3 separate regions of the Homo sapiens genome follow, and all the other regions are linked to region 1. Evidence: promoter capture Hi-C in 16 types of primary human blood cells and fetal thymus (Javierre and others, 2016). All regions are on one chromosome and are shown on one strand. Each heading gives the region's core, a stretch centred on a gene start or on the middle of the fragment in contact. The rest is flanking DNA. Distances are from core to core; before and after follow the strand shown.

Region 1 (4,133 bases), core at 639-3,138:
TGCCCTAATACCAAGTGTTCTTGGGTTAAAGGCAGGCGGCTTTTTAATTAAATCTTAAAGCACTGCAATTACTGGCAAGACAGCTGGTCTTAAGCAGTTTTGTGACTGCCCTTTTCATCCACTACATGACTATTCCGGCCTTTCTGGAGCACTTTTGAAAATCTACTTGACTCTGTCCACAAGACTGAGGAAAGTGAAAGCAAAGTCCCGGGAAAGCGGGAGATGATTCAGCCCGGGGTTCTGCCCCTCGCCCCTCCAGCAGCCTCTACAGTTAGGGAGCTCTTGAACTGTTCTCAGCAGGGGCCCCCAAAAAGTCAACCCTTCCCCAGGTCTGCGTTCTTCGGGAGAACACCTTCTGCTGGAAAGCTGCTAGCTTACCTGAGCTCAGCCGTGCTCCACCTAGCTTAGGCAAGTTAAATAAGGCCAGGAGAGAGCCTTTAATGCGTTTTAAAAGCGACAGACCCTCTCTCCTGAGTAGCTCGGGCCTGCGCCCCATCCCCCCGCCCCCCCCACACACACACCTGGCGCCCGGGCTCCCTGGTGCTCGCTGGCTGCGGGTCCGGAACGCACCCTTCCCGAGCCGGGTCCTGCGCCACCGGCGGGCGGGCGGGAGTCACTGCGAATATAGGAAGCAGGGGCGATTTCAAATGCTGCTTTATTCTTACAAATACTGTAAAAATTAATATAAAAAAGTGAGCATGCTCAGTCTTTTCCTCTTATCTACAATACAAAGGGTTTGTCTGAAAAGTCTGGTTTTTTTTCTTTTTACAAATGTACCTTAGCTGCATCAACAGGAGTAAGATGTAGAAAAAGCTACCATTACAAAAATAATTTAAGGGAAAATAAACACGTTTAGCTTCTCTCGCAGTTTAGTGGTGGTAAGTCCAGGCTGTAGCTTCTTTGCGCTCCTATGTCCCAAGAAACTGCAGCGGGCACCCGGCGGCTCTGGCTGCGCCAGGGCAGGGCGCGCTCCGCTCCGGGCCGTCGGGTCTGAGGTATGGGTCGTTGCTGAGTCTCTCCCGCCCCGGCCGCGCGTTACCGGCAGTCTGCTGTCCCGGCGGCCGGCAGGAAGGGCGGGCTGGGCAGCTGCTTGAAGAACTGCCGGAGGCCGGCCAGGTCCCGCGTGAGCTGCTCCACGCGCTGGTGCAGCTTCTCGTTCTCAGCCGACAGCTCCACCAACTTCTGCTGCATCTCCTGGTTGCGCCGCTTGGCCTTGTCGCGGCTCTTGCGCACGGCGATGTTGTTGCGCTCGCGCCGCTGCCGGTACTCGGGGCTGCCGCGGTCCGGGCCCCTCTTGCCGGCGCTCTTCTCCCGGGCGGGGCCGGGCGCGGGGGTCTGCCTGGGGCTGCTGCGCGGCGGCTCCGGCGACGTGGGCGGGGTGGGCTGCCCTGCGGCCGCCAAGCTCACCACGGTCTGTGCGCACGCGGCCACCTGCGCGGGCAACAGCGAGCCGGGCGCGTCGCCGTCGCCCCAGTCGGGCTCGCGCTTGAGCAGGCGGGGAGCGGCAGGGCCCGGGCCCAAGGGGCGCGCGGGGCCGCCGGGAAGAAGCTCCAGGGGCCCCGCGCCGCCCGCCTTGTGATTGCTGTTGAAGAGGTCGGCGAAGAGCTCGTCGTGGCACAGCTCCAGGGTGGGCACGGCGGCCATGGAGTCGATGTAGGCGCTGAAGTCGATGGCGCTCTCGTCGTCGTACATGGCGGGGGCGGCGGCGCCTGGCTCGCCTAGGGCCCCTGGCTCGGCCCCGCGGCCCGGCTTGCCCGCCCGGCCCGGTTCGTAGAAGGGCGCAGGCTCCGCAGGCCAGGGCGCGCCGCGCGCCGGGCCGTCCAGGCTGAAGAGCGCGGCGCTCATGGCGGCGTCGGGCCGGGCTCTGCGTCCAAGCGAGGCTGTCACCTCGCTGGGCCCAGCCCCGCCGCCTTTTCTAGCCCCGGCTGACGTGCACGCCCCGCCCCGACTCCGGCACCGCGGGGGCGCCCCGGGGCCGCGGGGGAAGGGGCGGGGGCGCCCTGGGAGCCCCCCGGAGCCGCCCCGAGCCTTCCCGGGGCGCGCCCCCTCTCAGTTCCTCCCCGGGGCCCCCTCCCCGGCCCTGGGGACCCCCAGCCCACGTTGCAGGAGGGTGCCCGCGCTGCTGCTCCCTCCCCGGCCCGGGCCGGCCTGCGCTGCGCTGCTGGGAATGACACTCCCTCTGCCAGCACTCCAGGGCCTTCTCTTCTTCCTGTTTGTGGGCTTGGAACCTCCTCGCTCCTCGGGGTTGGGAGTGAAATCAAAACCAGGACTTGGCCGCAGCGCGCGCGTCCCAGGCCGGCTCCTGTCGCCGGAGGGCGGGGGGTGGAGACCCGTGGGAGAGGACCCGCGCGTCCAAGGACGCCCCCCGACCGTGGGCACGCGCGTGAGGCCCTCGCCCCGCGCCTCCACCGTGGGACCAGATGCGGGAAGAGGCGTGGGGGACCAGACGTGGGGACAGCGGCGGCCTGGCAGGCGGGGAGGGCTGCCCGCACCGCACTCGGGCGCCTCGGGGAATCCGGGCCGGTTCTCGCTGCTCTCCTCGGAGGTCCCGGGTCCGGCCGGCCCTGGGGGTCGAGGCCCAGAGACGCGGCTGCTGCGTCCTGGCCGAAAGGCCGACGGGACGCTGTCGCCAAAAGCAGAGCAGATGGGGGAGACGCGGTCACGACACCGCGTCCTCCGCCGGCTCCTCGAGGTGCGGGCTCTCCGGCCGGACGCTACTCCCCGACCCCGCAGACCCGGGCGTCCGCCGCCAGCTCCCGCGCCCGCGTTTCTTCCAGGTCTACGGAAGCAGTGCCATCGTGTGGCGGCATCTTGCGTTAGACCTGTTTTTAGTTCCAGGCTCTTTCCCTGTTAAATATTCCAAAAAAGTGCCTTGAACCTAAAGTAGTTGGGTCCTTTTTGGGAAACAGGTAAGATCTACCAGTAGCTATAGCAGGGTGCAGATGGGCCTCGACTCACGATGGGGTTACATCCCGGTAGACCCATCGCACACTGAAAATGTCTTAAGTAAGAATGGGCTTTGTCATGTGTCCTGCAATTTGAGGCAGGCATTTCTGGTCAGACCCATTTATTATTTTAAATTAAAAATATGGTTTTTTTCAGCCGAGCACAGTGGCTCATGCCGGTAATCCCAGCATTTTGGGAGGCTGAGGTGGGCGGATCACTTGAGGTCAGGAGTTTGAAACCAGCCTGGTCAACATGGTGAAACCCCATTTCTACTAAAAATACAAAAATTAGCCAAGCGTAGTGGCGTGCGCCTGTAATCCCAGCTACTCGGGAGGCTGAGGCAGGAGAATCGCTTGAACCCGGGAGGCGGAGGTTGCAGTGAGCCGAGATCGTTCCATTGCACTCCAGCCTGGGCGACAGAGCGAGACTCCATCTCAAAAAAAAAATTGAGATGGGATCTCACAATATTGTCCAGGCTGGTTTCAAACTCCTGGGCTTAAGAGATTCGCCGGCCTCAGCCTCCCAAAGTGCTGGGATTACAGGCGTGAGCCACCATGTCGGGCCCAAATCCATTAAATCACTATCGCTAGTCACACCTGCTCCATGTCGAGTCTCTTCCTGCGCAGGCCTCTCACCAGATCTGCGTCGGAACACCAAGCTCTACTAACTGCTGTGCAGTTTCTGCAGTCAGTTCCAGAGGTCATTTCTAACGTTGCACTATGGGATATTTAATAGGTTTCCTAAAGAACAAACATATTTCTTTAGAGTTACTCAGAGGGTACACAATGATGATGTCACACAATTAATTACCTATTAAGACTGAAATCCAGCAATGCATAGAGTGTGGACTTACGCACATCCAGAAAAAGTTCTAGCACAAATTGTTTTGTTCTCATATATTTCAGAAGCCATAGAAACACTATTAAAGCCCTCCCTAATCACTTAGGGAATGCAAAATCAATATTTATAAGGGATAACCATATCCTCCTAAAAACAACTCAGAGACTATTTTCAGTGAGATGATTTACTGATTCCGATAGTCAATATAGTTACATTTTATTTTTATTTTTATCTTTATTTTTGAGACGGAGTCTTGCTCTGTCGCCAGGCTTGAGTGCAGTGGCGCGATCTCAGCTCACTGCAACGTCCGCTTCCCGGGTTCAAGCGATTCTCCTGCCTCAGCCTCC
Region 2 (3,929 bases), core at 999-3,498, 170 kb before region 1:
TCTTCCACCCTCAACCTCATGGCAGGCAGCTGTCAGTCCACAAGCCTTCCTGGTGCAGCACACTGGAGCCAGGGTGAGCAAAGAGGATTTTCACGTATCAGAAGAGAAAGAGAAAGGGGCAGAAAAAATATTTAAAGAAATAATGGAGCAAAACATCCCCGCCAAAAGGAAAGAACTGAATATATGCCACCATGAGCTCAATGTACTCCAAGCAAGATAAACACTATGAGATTAATGCCAAGATATATTAGAGTCAAACTGTTAAAGCCCAAACATGGAGTGGAGAGCAGGCATAAATCCTTCTTTATCAGTAATCACATTGAATGTAAATGGATAACAATTAAAAATGGAAAAAATGTAAATGGATGAAATTCAACTATGAAAAGATAGAGATTAGAAGATTACATTTAAAAAAACAGGATTCATCTATATGCTGTCTACAAGAGACATACTTTACATATGAGGACAGAAGGGGTTGAAAGTTAAAAGATGGAAAAAGATATTCTATGCAAATATTAACTAAAAGAGAACCAAGATAGGTATATCATTGTAGATAAAATAAACTTTAAATCAAAAGCAGTTACAAGAGATAAAGGACACTATATATTAATTAAAAGGTTCAATACAGCAAGAAGAGATAACAGATATATATACACCTAACAAAGGTGCCCCAGAATATAAGAAGTAAAAATTGACAGAGTCAAAGGGAGAAATAGACAGTTCTAAAATAATAATTAGAGACTTAATTACTCCCACTTTCAATAGGGATTAGAACAACTAGAAAGAAGATCAGTAGGAAATATTGGACTTGAACAACACTGTAAAGCAATTAAACCTAACAGACGTGCAGAATATTCCCACCTAACAACATAATACCCATTCTTGTCAAGTGCACATGGAACATTTTCCAGGATAGATTATTTGTTAAACCATCAAACAAGTCTTAATAAGTTAAAATATTCAGGTCTTACAGAGTATATTTTCCAGTTACAATAGAATAAGAGAAGGATATCCATTTTTACCACTTCTGTTGAATATTGTACTGGAGTTTCTACCCAGGACAATTAGGCAAGAAAAGGAATTAAAAAGCTTCCATGTTGGAAAGGAAGAAGTGAAATTTTCTCTATTCACAGATGACATGATTTCAAATGTAGAAAATCCTAAGGAATTCACTAAAAAGAACTGATAGAAGTAATGAGCTTAGCAAGGTTGCAGGGTACAAGGTCAGTATAGAAAAATCAGCTGTATTTCTGTACAATGCAATGAACAATCTGAAAATGAAATTAAACCAATTTTATTTACAGTGGCACCAAAAGGAATAAAATACTTAGAAATAAATTTAATAAAACAAGTGTAATACACTCTGAAAACTACAAAACAATGTTGAAAGAGATTAATAGGGTTAAGAAGGCAATACTCACCAAATTGATCTGTAGATTCAACATGATTCCTATTAGAATCCCATCTGGCTTCTTTGTAGAATTAACAAGATGATCATGGGAATTCATATGTAAACCCAAGAGACCCAGAATAGCCAAAACAGCCTTGAAAAAGAAGAAAGTTATAGGACTCACCCTTTCCAATTTAAAAAAGTGCTACAAAGCTACAGTATTCAAGACAGTGTTGACATAAAGATAAACATGTCGACCAATGAAATGTATTAGAAAGCCCTCTAAACCCCTCTATGGTCAGTTGATTTTCAACAAAGGTACCAAGATCATTCAAGGGGGAAAGAATAATGGTCTTCCACAGATGGTGCTGGGACTACCAGATATCCACATGCAAAATAATAGAGATCTTTACCTTAAACATATACAAAAATTAACTCAAAATGAATCAGAGACCTAAATGTAAGAGCCAAAAGTATAAAACTCCTAGAATAAAACACAAGAAGAAATCTTCCTGACCTTGAATGTGGTGATGGATTCTTAGGTATGACACTAAAAGCATAAGCAATAAAAGGAAAAAAATATTGCACATCATCAAGATTAAGAACTTTTGTGCTTCAAAAGACACTATCAAGAAAGTGAAAAGTTAACCCACAGAATGGAGGGGAGTATATGCAGATCATATATTTGATAAGAGAGTTACATAGAGAATATATAAAAAATTCTTACCACTCAGTAATAAAAAGACAACCTAATTTTTAAAATGGGCAAAGAATCTGAAAAGATTCTTTCTGCAAAGAAGATATACAATAAGAGTAATGATTAAGATGAAAGGTTTTAGCCGGGTGTGGTGGCTCACGCCTATAATCCCAGCACTTTGGAAGGCCTAGGTGGGCGGATCACAAGGTCAGGAGTTCGAAACCAGCCTGGCCAATATGGTGAAACCCCGTCTCTACTAAAAATACAAAAATTAGCCAGGTGTAGTGGTGGGCGCCTGTAGTCCCAGCTACTCGGGAAGCTGAGACAGGAGAATTGCTTGAACCCGGGAGGCAGAAGTTGCAGTGAGCCGAGATCGCACCACGGCACTCCAGCTTGGGCTACGGAGCGAGACTCTGTCTCAAAAAAAAAAAAAGTTGAACTCGTAGAAACAGAGTAGAAGGGTGTACCAGGGCTTGAGGGTGGGAGAAATGGAGAGATATTAGTTAAGGGGTCCAAACTTTCATTTATAAGATGAGTAAGTTCTGGAGACCTAACGGACAGCATGGTATCTACAGTTAATGTATATTTGACATTTGCTGAGAGAGTGGATCTTAAGTATTGTAAGCATACACATAGAACATGTGAGTAGATGGAGATGTTAATGCTGTGGCAGTCATTTCACACTCTATACGTACTTCAGACATCACATTGTGTCCCTCTTATATGTATTTGATTTTTATTTGCCAATTTTATTTCAATAAAGCTCAGGGGGAGGAGGAAATAAAATAATAATGAAATAAAATGAAAAATAGAATCATATATATCCTACTTCCCTCCCAGAATTGTTACAAGAATCAAATGAGGTAACTTAAGGAAAGTAATTTATAAAATGCAAATTTAATTAATATATAAAATACAAACATTATAGCAATAAGCATAATTGCCATTATTAAACATTATACTAGTGCCGCCTTATTCAAGGAGGATATATTCCAATACCTCCAGTGGATACATAGTACTCAACCTTGTATAAACTGTTTTTGCCTATGCATACATACCTGTGATAAAGGTTAATTTATAAATAAGGCAAAGTAAAGATTAACAACAACAATAATAAAGTAGAACAATTATAACAATATACTGTGATAAAAATTATGTGAATGTGGTCTCCTAAAATATCTTATTGTACTGTGCTCACCTATTTTCGTACCTTGGTGTTCTGAGGATAACTGAAACCACAAAAAACAAAACCGTGGATGAGAGAACACTGTATTAAATAAATATAATAACATTATATTATGCTTTCCCTCTTCTAATAGATCAAGCTTACTTTTAAGTTGGTTCTGTTGTCATTTCTAACCATTGGTGTACCAAGTAATCTCTTGTATGTAGTGAGTGCTCAGTAAATGTACTAGAAAAAAATTTAACTGAAATAGTGTAATATTTGATATAATATAAAATATTTAGGTAGTATTTTGTTTTCCTGAGAGGGTACCACAGACTGTTTTGAATGTCATATCAATAATCTGTTTATTTTGATAAAGGTAACTTAGATAATCCTTACCATTGTATTTATAGCCCAGCACAGTGATAGTTTACAATCTTAACATACATCTATCTTTAACTATCAATTTTAGGAGGCCAAGAATTCAGTCGATAAGATATTATCAGTAATAAACTGGTCAAAAAAAGGTGTAAAAACTTGTATGAGGGCCGGGCACGGTGGCTCATGCCTGTAATCCCAGCACTTCGGGAGTTCGAGGCGGGTGGATCACAAGGTGAAAAGATCGAGACCATCCTGGCTAATGTGGTGAAACCCCATCTCTACTAAAAATACAAAAG
Region 3 (3,944 bases), core at 562-3,061, 230 kb before region 1:
TTCTTTTCTTTAAGAATGTTGAATATTGGCCCCCACTCTCTTCTGGCTTGTAGAGTTTCTGCCGAGAGACCAGCTGTTAGTCTGATGGGCTTCCCTTTGTGGGTAACCTCACCTTTCTCTCTGGGTGCTGTTAACGTTTTTTCCTCCATTTCAACCTTGGTGAATCTGACAATTATGTGTCTTGGAGTTGCTCTTCTCGAGGAGTGTCTTTGTGGCGTTCTCTGTATTTCCTGAATTTGAATGTTGGCCTGCCTTGCTAGATTGGGGAAGTTCTCCTGGATAATATCCTGCAGAGTGTTTTCCAGCTTGGTTCCATTCTCCTCGTCACTTTGAGGTACACCAGTCAGACATAGATTTGGTCTTTTCACATAGTCCCATATTTCTTGGAGGCTTTGTTCGTTTCTTTTTTTTCTTTTTTCTCTAAACTTCTCTTCTCACTTCATTTCATTCATTTGATCTTCTATCACTGATACCCTTTCTTCTAGTTGATCGAATCGGCTACTGAGGCTTGTGCATTTGTCACATAGTTCTCGTGCCTTGGTTTTCAGCTCCATGAGGTCCTTTAAGGACTTCTCTGCATTGGTTATTCTAGTTAGCCATTCGTCTAATCTTTTTTCAAGGTTTTTAACTTCTTTGCCATGGGTGCAAACTTCCTCCTTTAGCTCGGAGTAGTTTGATCATCTGAAGCCTTCTTCTCTCAACTCGTCAAAGTCATTCTCCGTCCAGCTTTGTTCCATTGCTGGTGAGGAGCTGTGTTCCTTTGGAGGAGGAGAGGCACTCTGATTTTTAGAGTTTCCAGTTTTTCTGCTCTGTTTTTTCTCCATCTTTGTGGTTTTATCTACCTTTGTGTCTTTGATGATAGTGACGTACAGATGGGGTTTTGGAGTGGATATCCTTTCTGTTAGTTTTCCTTCTAACAGTCAGGACCCTCAGCTGCAGGTCTGTTGGAGTTTGCCGGAGGTCCACTCCAGACCCTGTTTGCCTGGATATCAGCAGCAGACGCTGCAGAGTGGCTGATATTGGTGAACAGCAAATGTTGCTGCCTGATCGTTTCTCTGGAAGTTTTGTCTCAGCGGAGTACCCGGCCGTGTGAGGTGTCAGTCTGCCCCTACTGAAGGGTGCCTCCCAGTTAGGCTACTCAGGGGTCAGAGACCCACTTGAGGAGGCAGTCTGTCCATTCTCAGATCTCCATCTGAGTGCTGGGAGAACCACTACTCCCTTCAAGGCTGTCAGACAGGGACATTTCAGTCTGCAAAGGATTCTGCTGTCTTTTGTTTGGCTATGTCCTGCCCCCAGAGGTGGAGGCTACAGAGGCAGGCAGGCAGGCCTCCTTGAGCTGCGGTGGGCTCCACCCAGTTCGAGCTTCCCCGCCACTTTGTTTACCTACCCAAGCCTCAGCAATGGCGGGCGCCTCTCCCCAAGCCTCGCTGCCGCCTTGCAGCTTGATCTCAGACTGCTGTGCTAGCAATGAGCAGGGCTCTGTGGGCATAGGACCCTCCAAGCCATGTGCGGGATATAATCTCCTGGTGTGCCATATGCTATGACCATTGGAAAAGCGCAGTATTAGGGTGGGAGTGACCCAATTTTCCAGGTGCCATCTGTCACCCCTTTCTTTGACTAGGAAAGGGAATTCCCTGACCCCTTGCGCTTCCCGGGTGAGGCAGTGCCTCGCCCTGCTTCGGCTCATGCTCGGTCCGCTGCGCCCACTTTCCGATACTCCCCAGTGCGATACCTCAGTTGGAAATGCAGAAATCCCCGGTCTTCTGCGTTGGTCACGCTGGGAGCTGTAGACTGGAGCTGTTCCTATTCGGTACAGCAGCATTTCAACTGCACTGATCTGTGGTCATCTAGTGACAACACTAGCAGTGCCACCCGGGCTTCCCTACTAAGGATATTAGTGTTCACTCTCTCCGAACCGTTACCTTTTGTGAATTTTTTTCCGTCACTTCTCAACCATAAGTATACTTAGCCTATATCTTGGGCATAATTTCAGTGTATGTAATTCCATTATTTTTGAGTATTGCCCTCCTGGCACATTGAATGTATCTTCTGACTCATCATTTTCTGAATCTTAAACTATAAAATGGAAAATTATGCCTTCTGTAGATGTTTCTATACTTTCTCAAACCATTTCTGCATGTATAGTACCTCCTTTGTTTCTTGTAATGCTACAAGAGTTGAGAGCTCAGTTGCAGATGACAGAATCCAGGCGAGGCTTTCTAAGCAGAACATGTTTGGCTGCTTCCTACCCACCTGGAAGTAACACAGGGAGGAGGGCAGCTACTAGACAGTTCAGCACAAATGCTGCTATTTCAGCTGCATGTTTGTGTGTTCTGTGTCAACATAAACCCCCCTTACATTTCCAAACAACAGCAGCAACAATTTATTTACACCATCATACAGCTCTCCCGTATAGAAATAATGAGGGTCTCACTCTACCTAGAGGGCAGTCCCAAAATCTCGTTTGTTTCTGCAGTTGGTTCCACCAGTGCAGGTTCTCAGGGTGATCGTTCTTTCTTTCTCTAATTTAGGCAGTGTTCTGTCTTAGAATTCTGGGATCCTGTAACCTATAGAATGAATTGCAAGGCTAATATCACCAATAGACCCTATCTAAAACTGGGGAAATGGAGAAAGGAAATTAGTTAACATGCATAAATATATACTTGCCACACCGAGAGAGGAAGAAGTATGCATAATTATTAGACTTCTCATTTCTACAAGTGGTTACTACCCATTTTGTGGTCTACATGCCCTAAAGTATCCAAATGTATTACTTAGTGGGTTTACGGACATATGCAGTGTTACTGGCAGACAGTGAAGACAAAACCAAACCTGAGTAGGCATATCTTCTAGTGAGGATAAAATGGTATCCTGTCATGATAGAAGGGATTGAGTGTAATTAACCGGTTATTATGTAGCAGGCGGTCCCTCCAAATCGATTGTTGTTCCTAGCAAGTTGACACTCCACTGTGTTGGGAAATAGCTGAGCTCTGTGCAGGGAGGCTGCCCATGTTGTACTTCTACCACTGTGGTCACTTTGCTAATGAGCCCACTAAACAACCTCTGGGCTACTGTGGAGAGAGTGAGACAAGCATTCATAGGGTGATTTATCATGTCCACCTGGTTTTTGAGAGCCTTCTCTCCAGTAAGCATTCAGATGGACACCGTATCTGTCTTACTCCTGGTTCAAGAAATCCACCCATATGCCTCTTCCCAGCCACCTGCTGCCAGCTCCTCAGTCTTCTTCCTCCTTTGTCTGTGCTGGTCAATGTAAGTTCTGATTCTTTGTGAGTAGAGGCTTGTACTGCAAGCTGTCTTTCAGTTGGGTCAGATAGTCCATGATATGTGCCCATAAAGCGTCTTCCCAATGGTTTAGCTCAGTAGTTGCTGCTGCCCATGAATCAGTGTGATTGATACCTCATGCCATCTCTTCTGGGCAGACTGGACCCAAGACATGCCATGGGAAGCTCTGCTCCTCTGTCAGGGCCTTCTGTGAAGGAAGCTGCAAAGCTGTAACAGCCGATTTCAGCTGCTCATATCGTGTTGCTCCATCTGGATACGAGCTCCTCAGACAGCTGGTCATGCAGACTTTCCCATGAGCCCTGGTGGGGGGCTGAGGGAAGGATGGCAGGATGCAAGAGTAGGCACATCAGTAATATAAGCTTCTTGTTGACGGAACTTAATTTTGGATGCTATTCACACCTAAATATGCTATATATATATGACTTTTACTTGAGGACACAGTATCCTGGACATGTCCTTCTCTGTAGCCCCAATACCCAGTTCATGTGGGTCCCATGGCCATGTTTTCACAGTTAACTAACATGAAATGTCAGCTGTTCATTCTCCACTAGGAGCCAGTATTAAGCCAATCTGTGTGTATCAAAAGGAAAATAGTTACTTGCTATATAGAGTATTGTGTGACCCCAAAACCTTGGGACTTC

What was found. The method cuts DNA at HindIII sites, captures the fragments that hold promoters and counts their contacts. A CHiCAGO score of 5 or more calls a contact.
Region 2: a contact is called between a fragment that was not itself captured here and the fragment with the promoter of CEBPD in region 1, in 2 of 17 cell types (neutrophils and monocytes). The highest score is 6.5, in neutrophils.
Region 3: a fragment that was not itself captured here is called in contact with the fragment with the promoter of CEBPD in region 1 in 2 of 17 cell types (neutrophils and monocytes); the score reaches 9.9 in neutrophils.

Annotation. Positions count from the first base shown.
Region 1 is chr8:47,736,276-47,740,408 of GRCh38, forward strand. CEBPD (CCAAT enhancer binding protein delta) reads right to left here and starts at 1,889. Exons shown (of 1, transcript NM_005195.4): 1 at 638-1,889. The coding sequence starts at 1,845. The coding sequence ends at 1,036. It overlaps SPIDR (scaffold protein involved in DNA repair), which reads left to right. Exons shown (of 20, transcript NM_001080394.4): 20 at 1-31. RefSeq lists an enhancer at 913-1,851 and silencers at 1,248-1,437, 1,928-2,037, 2,078-2,157, 2,248-2,717. The HindIII fragment of the contact is 19,422 bases long and covers 1-4,133 here.
Region 2 is chr8:47,568,584-47,572,512 of GRCh38, forward strand. All of the region lies in intron 8 of SPIDR (scaffold protein involved in DNA repair), which reads left to right. Among named protein-coding and RNA genes, the nearest start is that of CEBPD, 170 kb to the right of the region's middle. The HindIII fragment of the contact is 2,323 bases long and covers 1,088-3,410 here.
Region 3 is chr8:47,503,932-47,507,875 of GRCh38, forward strand. All of the region lies in intron 8 of SPIDR (scaffold protein involved in DNA repair), which reads left to right. Among named protein-coding and RNA genes, the nearest start is that of CEBPD, 230 kb to the right of the region's middle. The HindIII fragment of the contact is 3,698 bases long and covers 1-3,660 here.